Linked DNA regions of Homo sapiens: region 1 is linked to region 2. The links are contacts of gene promoters, found by promoter capture Hi-C in blood cells and fetal thymus (Javierre and others, 2016). All regions are on one chromosome and are shown on one strand. The core of a region is centred on a gene start or on the middle of the fragment in contact, and the rest is flanking DNA. Distances in the headings are between cores, read along the strand shown. Region 1 overlaps CBFA2T2 (CBFA2/RUNX1 partner transcriptional co-repressor 2). Region 2 holds the start of ACTL10 (actin like 10).

Evidence for each region. Contacts are between HindIII fragments. The CHiCAGO score rates a contact against its expected background, and 5 or more counts as called.
Region 1: a fragment that was not itself captured here is called in contact with the fragment with the promoter of ACTL10 in region 2 in 5 of 17 cell types (neutrophils, naive B cells, total B cells and 2 more); the score reaches 6.4 in neutrophils.

What each region holds. Positions count from the first base shown.
Region 1 is chr20:33,493,419-33,499,619 of GRCh38, reverse strand. All of the region lies in intron 1 of CBFA2T2 (CBFA2/RUNX1 partner transcriptional co-repressor 2), which reads right to left. Among named protein-coding and RNA genes, the nearest start is that of CBFA2T2, 6.4 kb to the right of the region's middle. The HindIII fragment of the contact is 160 bases long and covers 3,189-3,348 here.
Region 2 is chr20:33,664,824-33,670,867 of GRCh38, reverse strand. ACTL10 (actin like 10) reads right to left here and starts at 3,925. Exons shown (of 1, transcript NM_001024675.2): 1 at 2,343-3,925. The coding sequence starts at 3,370. The coding sequence ends at 2,633. NECAB3 (N-terminal EF-hand calcium binding protein 3) reads left to right here. Exons shown (of 12, transcript NM_031232.4): 3 at 76-184; 4 at 1,156-1,181; 5 at 1,396-1,493. RefSeq lists enhancers at 3,123-3,202, 4,013-4,232 and a silencer at 3,553-3,882. The HindIII fragment of the contact is 8,805 bases long and covers 1-4,655 here.

The sequences.
Region 1 (6,201 bases), core at 2,019-4,518, 170 kb after region 2:
TCATTTCAAAAGTTCAAGTTATGGTACCCCAACTCCTAAAATTTCAGATAGCCTCAAGGGGCCAGAGACAGAAACCAGAGACAGAGGCAAAAAGCTACTTAACCAGCCTTAATAAAATCCAGAAACAAGGTCTGTCACATGTACAAACACTAGCTCATGTCGCACATGTAAACTATTACTACAGCATTATGAGATCCCTTCCTTGGTAATCTTACTAAAGCCTAAACAATAACCAGAGTGATTCTTCTTCATTAGCCTCCAAGCTTTCAGGGATTTGAAGTAAATCTTTACAAAAGAATGGTCACTTTCTATGAGATTCAAAACAATACTCTAAGGAATGAGAACAAAATTGGCAGGTGAGAAATCTTACTTCCCCACCTCTTCCTCCTATTTTCATTACCCTGAACTTAGTGAATTAACTCATTTTGATCCCAGGGCTGCAATCATTCATTAAGCACTATCATTTAAACCATTCTTCCTGCCTAAAACTCTGGATTCACATAACCTATACAACATTTAACACTTGAGAACAAGCTTAAACTCAATCTCTCTGCTTATTTTTTTTTTTTTTCTTTTTAGACGGAGTTTCACTCTTTCGCCCAGGCTGGAATGAAGCAGCGTGATCTCAGCTCACTGCAACCTTCCGCCCCCTGGGTTCAAGCAATTCTCCTGCCTCAGCCTCCTGAGTAGCTGAGATGATAGGCACCCACCACCATACCTGGCTAATTTTTGTATTTTTAGAAGAGACGGGGTTTTGCCATGTTGGCCAGGCTGGTCTCGAACTCCTGACCTCAGGTGATCCGCCCGCCTCGGCCTCCCAAAGTGCTGGGGTTACAGGTATGAGCCACTGTGCCTGGCCATTATTATTTTTTATTATTTTGAGACAGGGTCTCTCTGTCACCCAGGCTGGAGTGCAGTGGCACTATCACTGCAGCTTCCAACACCTGGGCTCAAGCGATCCTCCTACCTCAGCCTTCCGAGTAACTGGGACTACAGCTGAGTGGCACCACCATCACGCCCAACCTCTCTGCTGATTTTTTGATTCTGTATATAAGAAAACTAGGTCAGGTTGGGCGCGGTAGCTCACGCCTATAATCCCAGCACTTTGGGAGGCCGAGGTGGGCAGATGACCTGAGGTCAGGAGTTCGAGACCAGCCTGGCCAACATGATGAAACCCCCATCTCCACTAAAAATACAAAAATTAGCCAGGTGTGGTGGCGCATGCCTGTAAACCCAGCGACTTGGGAAGCTGAGGCAGGACAATGGCTTGACCCTGGGAGGCGGAGGTTGCAGTGAGCAACTGCACTCCAGTGCCACTGCACTCCAGCCTGGGCAACAAAAGGGAAACTCCATCTCAAAAAAAAAAAAAAAAGAAAGAAAATTAACTGGGCCAGGCACAGTGGTTCATGCCTGTTAATGCCAGCACGTTGGGAGGCCAAGGCAGGTGGATCACTTGAGCCTAGGAGTTCTAGACCAGCCTGGGCAACATGAAGAAACCCTGTCTCTACCAAAAATACAAAAGTTGGTCTCATAACCTGGTTTCAAAATTAACAAACAAAAATTTTAAAAATACAGTAAGATAAAAAGAAAACTAACTGGTTCCAAACTAGGATAAACTTACTCAAAAGTCAAAGAAGGGCTGGACTCAATGGCTCACATCTGCAATCCTAGCATTTTGGGAGTCCAAGGCAGGAGAATCATTGGAACCCAGTAATTAGAGACCAGCATGGGAAACATAGAAACATCCTGTCTCTATAAAAAAAATAAAAATAAGCTGGGTGTGGTGGCTCACGCCTGTAATCCCAGCACTTTGGGAGGCCAAGGCGGGCAGATCACGAGGTCAAGTGATCGAGACTAGCCTGGCCAACATGGTGAAACCCCATCTCTACTAAAAATACAAAAATTAGCTGGGCGTGGTGGCGTGTGCCTGTAGTCCCTGCTACTCGGGAGGCGGAGGCAGGAGAATCGCTGGAACCCGGGAGGCAGAGATTGTAGTGAGCCCAGATCACACTACCGCACTGTAGCCTAGCGACAGAGTGAGACCCCTTCTCAAAAAAAAAAAAAAAAAAAAAGTATACAAGCTTCAAACACAGTCATGGTCCCAGCAGGAAACATGGCATACTCCAGTAAGGTTAATTCAAGGAGGGTTTAATAATGGAACTAGAAAGAAATATGTGAGCAGGGTACAAGATAGGCACAAGGGATAGCTGTAATACCCTGGGACTAATGAGAGCATCTCTAGATCTCTAGGCCCAACAACCAAAGGGAACAAAAACTTTCCAAACCTACATGGAGGATGTCACACAGAAAGGACCACATTCTTTTTTTTTTTTTTTTTTTTTTTTGGAGACAGGGTTTCGCTCTTGTCACCCAGGCTGGAGTGCAATGGCGTGATCTCTGCTCACCATAACCTCCGCCTCCCGGGTTCAAGCAATTCTCCTGCCTCAGCCTCCTGAGTAGCTGGAACTACAGGCATGCACCACCATGCCCAGCTAATTTTGTATTTTTAGTAGAGACATGGTTTCTCCATTTTGGTCAGGCTGGTCTCAAACTCCCGACCTCAGGTGATCTGCCGGCCTCAGCCTCCCAAAGTACTGGGATTACAGGCATGAGCCACCGCACCCGGCCGAGAGGACCACATTTAGAGAAGCAGTGACCTTCAGTCAAGGGACAGAGTCAGCTAAGGGCACAACCCATGAGACGGGAGTAGGAAAATAAATTTCATAACCTCAAAGGGGAAGGAAGCTCATTGATGTAGTCCATATAGGTAAGTCAGCTTCCCAGGGCACAGGATAGGGTGAAAAAGGATGGAAAGCAGACCTAGAAGAGCAAACAAAAGGTACCTATTCAACGTCAGACAAGCCTTTCTGATGCACTTTCCGATCTCTTCTGTAATCCCAATGGATAAGTGCCAGATAAGGAAAGGGATACTGAAGATGATCATTCTTACCCCTTTTAAATAGTAATGCACAGGTCCTATCTACTACAAAACATTTGTAACCAAGTTTTTCACTAGTAAATATGGTCATTTACCATTCCACTTTTAACTGTTTAGACTTCCTTGAAGGTCCAATGATTATATACCTTTCTCGACACTAATGAACTTCCTACTTACCTTGCTAGGCAAAATAAAATTACAAAAATGCAAACATTGTCAAAACCCTCAAGGAGTTTATAATTTAGAAGCTTATATTCTTAGATAACTAAGAAGGCAGAATGAGGTATGTGCCAGAGAGAGAAGGAAAGGGCTGTGGTGGTGTGAAAAGTTCTGTAACAGGCTTCTTTGCCATCTGGCCCCTGCCAGGAACAACTCCAGCCAGAATTCACTATTAACAAGGTATATAAGCTTCAATCAGGTTCCCTGTAGGTCCAGATCTGATAAACTACTCACCAAGCCCTCAACTACCTTCAGCCAGTAGACTTCACCCTTCCTTCTCCTGGGAAAAGCCTCCCTTCTCCTTTAAAGCCTGGTTTAATGTCACCCCTTTAGCTGGACCTTACCTGGAATCTCAAGGAATAATTAGTTATGTCTCCCCTGCCTTCCCAAAAGCCTTACGCTTAAAGCACTTAAAACACTTTATCATTACCTGTTGACTTGTGCACGGCCCCTCCTAGACTGAGACCCTAAGTCAGATGGTATACCCTCAGCCACTAACAACCACCAGAACAGAATGTGTCAAGCACGGTTTTAAGTACTTTACATATATTAACATATATTAACCATCATAATAAACCTGCAAATGGGGTAGAAATTTTATCTCCATTTTTCAGATGAGGAAAATGAACTGCACAAGAAGGTTAAGTAATGAGCCTGAAGTCTCAAAACTTGTTAGGATTGGTTCCCAGGATTTTAACCTCAGCACAACTCCAGAATTAAATTTCAAAACTTTAGAATTTAAATCTTAACCATTACATTTTTTTCTTTTTTTGAGACAGAGTCTTGCTGTGTTGCCCAGGCTGGAGTGCAGTGGCACGATCTCAGCACACTGCAACCTCCGCAGTTTCTTTCAAGCAATTCTCCTGCCTCAGCCTCCCAAGTAGCTGGGACTACAGGAACCCGCCACCACGCCCAGCTGATTTTTTTTGTACGTTTTTTGGTAGGGACGGGGTTTCACAATGTTGGCCAGGCTGGTCTTGAACTCCTGACCTCGTGATCCGCCCACCTCAGCCTCCCAAAGTGCTGGGATTACAGGGATGAGCCATCGTGCCCGGCCTTTTTTTTTTTTTTTTTTTGAGATAGAGTTTCCCTCTTGTTGCCCAGGCTGGAGTGCAATGGTGGGATCTCAGCTCACGGCCACCTCTGCCTCCTGGCTTCAAGCAATTCTCCTGCCTCAGCTGGTACTACAGGCCCCCGCTACCACAGCCAGCTTCTTTTTGTATTTTTAGTAGAGATGGGGTTTCACCATGTTGGCCATGCTGGTCTCAAAACTCCTGACCTCAGATGATCCGCCCACCTCGACCTTCCAAATGGTGGGATTACAGGCGCGAGCCACCATACCCAGCCATTACATTTTACTTCTACCGAATAAACTAGATTTCATCAGAGCAATAGACCTAATGGATTGAGAAGGTACTACTACAAGATCAATGATCTCCACCCCAGGAGGTATTGTTAAAATTCACCACTGGGTGTAGAAAGACAACGTTGGAACTGCTACTTCCATTTATTTTACCTTATCCTTCTGTAAAATGTCTATTTTTGTATGTTATAAAACATACCTAGGACAGGCGTGGTGGCTCATGCCTGTAATCCCAACACTTTGGGAGGCTGAGACGGGCGGATCACCTGAGGTCAGGAGTTTGAGACCAGCCTGACCAACATGGTGAAACCCCATCTCCACTAAAAATACAAAATTAGCTGGGTGTGGTGGTGCATGCCTGTAATCCCAGCTATTTGGAAGGCTGAGGCAGGAGAATCGCTTGAACCTGGGAGGCGGAGGTTGTGGTGAGCCAAGATCGCCATTGCACTCCAGCCTGGGCAACAAGAGCAAAACTCCATCTCAAAACAAAATAAAACAAAACAATACACCTAATACAGTGGCCGGGCGCGGTGGCTCATGCCTGTAATCCCAGCACTTTGGGAGGCCGAGGCGGGCGGATCACGAGGTCAGCAGATCGAGACCATCCTGGCTAACAGGGTGAAACCCCGCCTCTACCAAAAATACAAAAAATTAGCCAGGCGTGGCGGCGGGCACCTGTAGTCCCAGCTACTCGGGAGGCTGAGGCAGGAGAATGGCGTGAACCCAGGAGGTGGAGCTTGCAGTGAGCTGAGATCGTGCCACTGCACTCCAGCCTGGGCAACAGAGCGAGACTCTGTCTCAAAAAAAAAAAAAAAAAAAAAAAAAATATATATATATATATATATATATATATATACACATATATATGCCTAATACATAGTACAGTCACACTATAATCGCCATTTAAAACAAACATTCAGGCCAGGCGCGGTAGCTCACGCCTGTAATCCTAACATTTTGGGATGCCAAGGCGGGTGGATCACTTTAGGTCAGGAGTTTGAGACCAGCCTGACCAACATGGTGAAACCCTATCACTGCTGAAAACACAAAATTACCAGGGGTGGTGCCATACACCTGAAATCCCAGTACTTGGGAGGCTGAGGCAGGACAATCACTTGAATTCAGGAGATGGACGATGCAGTGAGCCGAGATCGCACCACTGCACTCCAGCTGGGGCAACAAGAGCAAAACTTCGTCTCAAAAAAAACCATAAAAAAACAAAAAATAAAACATTCATAGAATGTGTGTGCATACTCAACCCTATTTACTGATGGAATGAACACTAAAAACATTTTAGGTGGCCAGGTATGGTGGCTCATGCCTCTACTCCCAATACCGGGAAGCTGAGGCAGGAGGATCGCTGCAGCCCAGCAGTTCAAGACCAGCCTGAGAAACACAGTGAAACCCCATGTCTACAAAACTTTTTAAACAATTAGCCAGGCATGGCAATACATGCCTGTAGTCACAGCTACTAGGGAGGCTGAGGTGGGAGGCTGACTTGAGCCCCAGAGATAAGAGGCTGCAGAAGCTATGCTCACTGGGCAGCAGAACCTGGGCAACAGAGCAAGACCCCACCTCAGTTTTAAAAAAAGAAAAAACAAACATGTGAGGCCACAGTTCTAGACTACTTCCCCAAGGACTCTGGCTCAGGGGTTGAAGCACCGATTTTAAGACTGAACTC
Region 2 (6,044 bases), core at 2,676-5,175:
CTGGACCTGGTGGCAGGGGTGCAGTCAGGGTCAGGGATACCTCCTCTGCTCCCTGTCCTCCCCCTGCCACCCCAGATGATGGGAAGCTCTCATTTGAGGAATTCCAGAATTACTTTGCCGATGGGGTTCTCAGCCTGGGGGAGCTGCAGGAACTGTTCAGCGGCATTGATGGGCATCTCACCGAGTGAGTATGAGAGGGGGCCGTGGGTAGATGCGAGGCCAGGTTGTCTTTACCCCACTGTGTCCCCTGCTGCCTTGGTTCCTTTTGTAGGATGAGGAAGAGGGGGCAGGGAGAAAGGTACCAGGGCTCAGTTCCAACTTTACCCGCCTGCCTACCCCCTCTCCAGCTACAGCCTTGCCCACTACACTGCTTCCAGCTGGGACCCCAAAATAGCCAAGTCTGAGTCACCACCCATGGCTCAGCTCCCCATTCCCGCTTCCCACAGGGACCAGAGGATGCCTGGGGACAGCTGGGCCCCGCCTGCTTCCACCCGAGAATGCAGTGCATAAACACGCAACCATCTACCCCTTGTGTGCTCCCACATCTACGCGTCTTGGCAGGAGTGTGCACGCTCCTTCCCGTGCCTGCTCCCAGGGGTGCACACGCATGAACCGCTGTTACTCCCTCTACTTCCCTTCTCCCCTTTCCTGAGGGTCAGTCTCAGGCTCCTGAGACTTGGGCTGGAACCTTCATCTGCAGTGCTTCCCCTCCCCTCCTGGCCAGACTCCCCACCCAGTTCCTTGTCCTTCAGGGCCTCACTTAGGCAGCTCTTCCTCTAGGAAACCCTCCCTAACCTACAACTAAATACCCCATGCCGTCCCTGGACTTCATTGCCTTGCACCTGGCTTCCCCTTCGCAGCTCTGACCACTTCTCACTGGCCTGTGTCCACATCCATCTTCCCCTGGCCTGAGATCCTCTTGGTAGCCAAGAATGGGTCTGAATCTTTGCCCTTAGAGTGATTGGTGGGGGCAGTAGAACCCATTCTCCAACCCTGCAAGGACTCTGTCCACAGGAGCAACTTAATCTGGGGTGGAGCAGAAGTGGCCTTGTTAGGCTAAGCTGGGAGTTGGTGGGGTGGGATGTGGGGCATTGGCCCCATTAGTCCCAGTTTACCAGGCCCAGGTCTGAAGGGCGCCTTCTCTTTTCCCTGCAGCAATTTAGAAACAGAAAAACTGTGTGGTGAGTAGGCCCATGGGAGCTCTTTTCTCCTGTGGCCCCTGGGCCCCAGGGTACGTGTGGCAAGGGACTGTTGCTGGTCTCCTGATGGGACAGGTTGGGCTGGGCTCAGGATATAAGGCCTGCTTGGCTGCTGAGGAATTCCAGGGGGCCAGAATCCCAGGGTGGGTAGATGGGTGGGGGTCCAGGAACCCTTGAGCACCTCTTCTGCCTGCAGACTACTTCTCAGAGCACCTGGGTGTCTACCGGCCGGTGCTGGCTGCATTGGAATCGCTGAACCGTGCAGTGCTCGCTGCCATGGATGCCACCAAGCTGGTGAGTGGAGTGGCTGATGGTGGGGGATCCACTGTGAGGCAGTGGGCATCTGCTGTGCTGTGGGATCCTCCACAGTCTTGACTCAGGGTTATAGAGCTAGGGGCTTGGGTTCAAATCCTGGCTCCCACTTTGTAGCTGTGCCCCTTGACCTCTCTGGGCCTGTTTCCTCATCTGTAAACCATCATAACAATAGAGCTGCCCTTCATACATCACTGTGACCAGTGAGAACGAAGGCAGGGATTTTTGTCTGTTTTATTCTGTTTCCAGCACCCAGAATAATGTCTGGCATACACTGGGTGCTTCATACTAGGGGCTGCTGTTGCTTTAGTTGCTGGCCCATCACAACTGTGGTGGGATATCATTCAGGGCTGGGCTAGGCGTGGAAGGCTGTGCTCACAGGTTCACAGGGCAGGGCCTGGCCCGAGGACATACGTGAGTAGGCAGGTACGTGAACACCCACGCGTTTGTGTGGACACGTGTATACACAAGCTCGAACAGTGCTGATAGCCAGGGCTTGAGGCCCTTGAGTGGTGACTTCCAAAAAATAAGCTGCCCTTCCCTTTGTGTGTTCAAGAAATATCTCCACCTCCCTTTGCTCCATAGCTCTTGTAAGGGGGAGGGAGCAGTGAGCAGGCCCGGGATTGTGCCTGACCCCACTTTTTACAGAAGGGGAAACTGAGGCACTCATAGTCAACAATGACCTGAGCACATGGCTAGGCACAGGGCTCCTCCTCCTGGTGACTTTCACATGAGATTTAGTAGCTTTTCAAGGGATCGCCCCTTGGGGCCTGGCATCGGATGTATGTCCAAATGGTACATGACGAGGGTTTGGAGGAACTCCCATATCTGTGGCATGGACACAAGTGGGGCATCACCTTTATTGCCATAAAGTAGGGCCCTGTGGGTAGGCAGCTGGACTGGCATTCTCTGAACTGGCAGTGGTTGGGGAGATTCAAACTGCAGTTCAAAATGAGGGTCCCATGGGTCCCAAATACCTTCTCCTGGCCCAGAAAGGGTATGGGGGTGACCCATCCAGTCAGCTCCAACCTCCAGGAGGACCCTGCCAGCTCCAAACACTTGACTCTTTAGATAGAGAGCTGTCCCCCAACGCAGTGCCACCCCCCCCAGTCCAGCCTGACTCAGTTGAACACATCGTACAGCAGCCTGGAGCCACACTCCTGGTACATGGCCCGAGTTATCCAGCGGCGCTGGAAGGAGTGCAGGGAGGCCACCATGGAGCCGCCGGTCCACACAGCCATGCCACGCCCATGCTTGGCCACCAGGTGGGGCCGCAGGGCCGCGTAGCCGTGCCGCCGGCACTGCGCCTCCAGCTCCTTGTCCAGGCGCTCGGCGAAGCCAGGAAACAGTGTGGAGCCGCCGGCTAGCACCACGGTGTCTGCCAGGCGTGTCCGCAGCGTTTTGGGCATCTTCTGCAGCGCCCGGAAGGCCAGCGCGGGCAGCCCCTGCTCAGCCTGGCCCAGCAGGCCCGGCTGGAAGATGGGTTCGGGGCAGCGGAAGCGCTCACTGCTGAGGCAGACGCAGCACCCGTTACCCACGCTGAAACTGGCCGGATGGTGGCGGGCGGGGTCGCGGAGGTCGCCCTCGAAGTCCAGGGACACGTAGCAGCTGCGCTTCTTGAGATGTGTGATGGCCTTGCGGGGCAGGGCCTGCTGCAAGAGGTCAGGGTTCGCCGCCACCAGCAGATCCCGCAGGTAGCGCGACAGGGTGCTGCCTGCCACGTTCAGTCGGAAGGTGGCCTGGTGCCACGAGTGACCCGCGTAGATGGGCGTGGCGTGGCACACGCCCGCGCCCGCCTCCACGGCCAGCCCGCTGAACGCGCCGGTGGAGCAGAGCGCCAGCAACGCGGTGCTAGCCATGTGGCACGCGGGCACTGCCAGGGTCTCGAACAGCAGCTCCGCCACCCTTTCGCGGCCCGCGGGCGGCGCCAACGGCGAGTCGCTCACCAGCACGGGCCACTGCTCTGGGCACACCCGCAGGCCGCCCACCAGCAGGCGCTCCCACAGCCCTTCCAGCGCCTCCCAGTCCGCCACCACGCCGTGCTTGATGGGGTGCGCCCGCGCCACGCCGCCCGCCAGCTCGCAGCCCGGCGCTCCGGGCAGCACCGGCCGGTCCCAGCTGGGCACCAAGCTAGAGCTCTTCAGCACTATGCGCGGCTGGTTCTCGCCCGCGAAGCCCGCCTTGGTGAAGCCCGAGCCCTGGTCCACCACCACCGCGATGCGGCCCAGGGAGGACGGCCGGTGCACGCGGCGGCTCCCCGACACCGACGCCACCTTCGGGCTCGGCCCAGCCGCGGGGCTGAAGGCTCCGCTCCTCCGCGCCACTCGGCTTCGTCGGCCCGATACCTCCCGGCCTCTGTCCTAGGGAGTAGTCCCCTTCAGCCTTTGGCTCTGCCTCCGGAGCCTAAGTTCTTCCTCTTCTGGACCAAATCACCACCCTTTTCAGCTCTTGGCTCCGCCCTCTGGTCTGAAAGCCCCGCCTCTTCTGTCCGGGCCATCCGCCTCCTTTTCAGCTCGTGGCTAGTTCCTAGGCCTGAGGCCCGGCCCCTAGTTCAGGCTTCAGTCTCCGCTCTGGCTGGGTTCCAGCCGCATCTCACCCTCTTGGTCTCCCTCTGGCGCCGGGCTTCAGGCTCCACGCTCTCAGGACCCGCCTCTGCTTTGCTGTTCCGCCCCGTCAGCCCTTGCTGAGATGGCTGACGAGATGGCTAGGACTGATCCTTTTAGATCCTAAGAAGCCCCCGGGAGGAGCAGAACTTTGAGGGCGAAGGGGCCTTGTGGTAAGGCCATTTGGACATATATCCCCCTTGAGGACCCAGGCAGCCTCCTGGCACCTCTCACCTGGGCTTGACGGAAGTTCCTGGTTGTGGAGAGGGGAGGGGCTGGTCAGAAGGCAGAAAAGAACTTGGATTGGGCTCATTGTGACCTCACTCCCCAGCAGCTGCACTTCGCAGCTCCCTACCTTATGACAACTCCCTGGACCCATCCTCTCTTCTGGACAGAGCCAAGGGCAGTGATTTTGGCATCCAGGGGTCTGGCTTCAGCAGCCCAGCACAGTCTGATTCCTTTCCCAAACCACTTAGAATTATCTGATGTACTCTGTCCAGATGTGTGGCCCCCTACCCCTCCCAGTGCTGAAGAAAAAGCTTTTTCATCACAGATCTGCAGCTTCCCTGAAGAGCCCCCGAGAGGCTCTGGCCCTACCTTTATGGGCTTCCACGGATGGATTCACGTGGGCCTCAGTTTGAGACTCAGTTCTTTTTTTTATTATTATTATTTTTGAGACGGAGTCTCGGTCACCCAGGCTGGGCGTGCAGCGTTGCAATCTCAGCTCAGTGCAACCTCTGCCTTCCGAGTTCAAGTGATTCTCCTGCCTCAGCCTCCTGAGTAGCTGGGACTACAGGCATGCACCACCATACGCGGCTAATTTTTGTATTTTTAGTGGAGACAGGGTTTCGCCACGTTGGCCAGGCTGGTCTCGAACTCCTGACCTCAGGTGATCCACCTGCCTTGGACTCCCAAAGTGCTAGGATTACAGGTGTGAGCCACCGCACCCAGCAAGACTCAGTTCTGAAGCTGACTCACTGTGCAGTCCTAAGCAAGTCTTGATCTTTCTCTGGGTTCGGTTTTCTCCTCCAAAAGGTAGTAATAATCCCCCCACACAGGAAAGAGGTCACTTCTTGTCTCTGCAAAGCCTCATCCTCCTGAGGACCAGTTTGGTTGCAGGTAGAAGACTCAGGTGAATGTAACCCAAAATAAGGACTTTATTGAAAGGATCTTACATGTTATGGATATCAAGAGCAAGGGTGAAATCAGGTTTCAGGAACAGAATCTGACTGCGGGGCTGTGGGGAACCCAGGATGTGCACTGCATTGTGTTGTTTGTTTTTTGAGATGGAGTCTCGCTCTCTTGCCCAGGCTGGAGTGCAGTGGTGTGATCTCAGCTCACTGCAACCTCTGCCTCCTGGGTTCAATTCCCCTGCCTTAGTCTCCCGAGTAGCTGGGACTACAGGCGCCCGCCATGATGCCTGGCTAGTTTTTTGTATTTTTAGTAGAGACGGGGTTTCACCGTGTTAGCCAGGATGGTCTCGATCTCCTGACCTCGTGATCTGCCTGCCTCAGCCTCCCAAAGTGCTGGGTTTACAGGCGTGATCCACTGCGCTTGGCCTGCATTGTGTTTTTATTCTGAAGGCTGGCTTAGCCTGTGCATGTTCAAGTAGAGAACATGGTCTCTTACAGCTCCTGAATCACAGTCCTAGGGGGAGGGGCTGACAGGACCAGCTTGGGCCAATCACTGTATGGGCAGGAGGTGCAGCCCCATGGAAGAACATGGTTACCCTGATTGTAACCATGTGGATGGTAGGGAAGAGTCAGTTCTCACAATTAGCAGGAGTGATGTTATAGCTCTTGCAGCCTCCAGCCTGGTGCAGGCAAGGTGGAGGAGATGTTCATCCTGGTGGCGGTGACAAAAGTGCATCTTCAGCAGAAGCTGGGCTGATGGCTGTAGTGAGCTGGGACTTCAGTCCTGCTGCATCTGC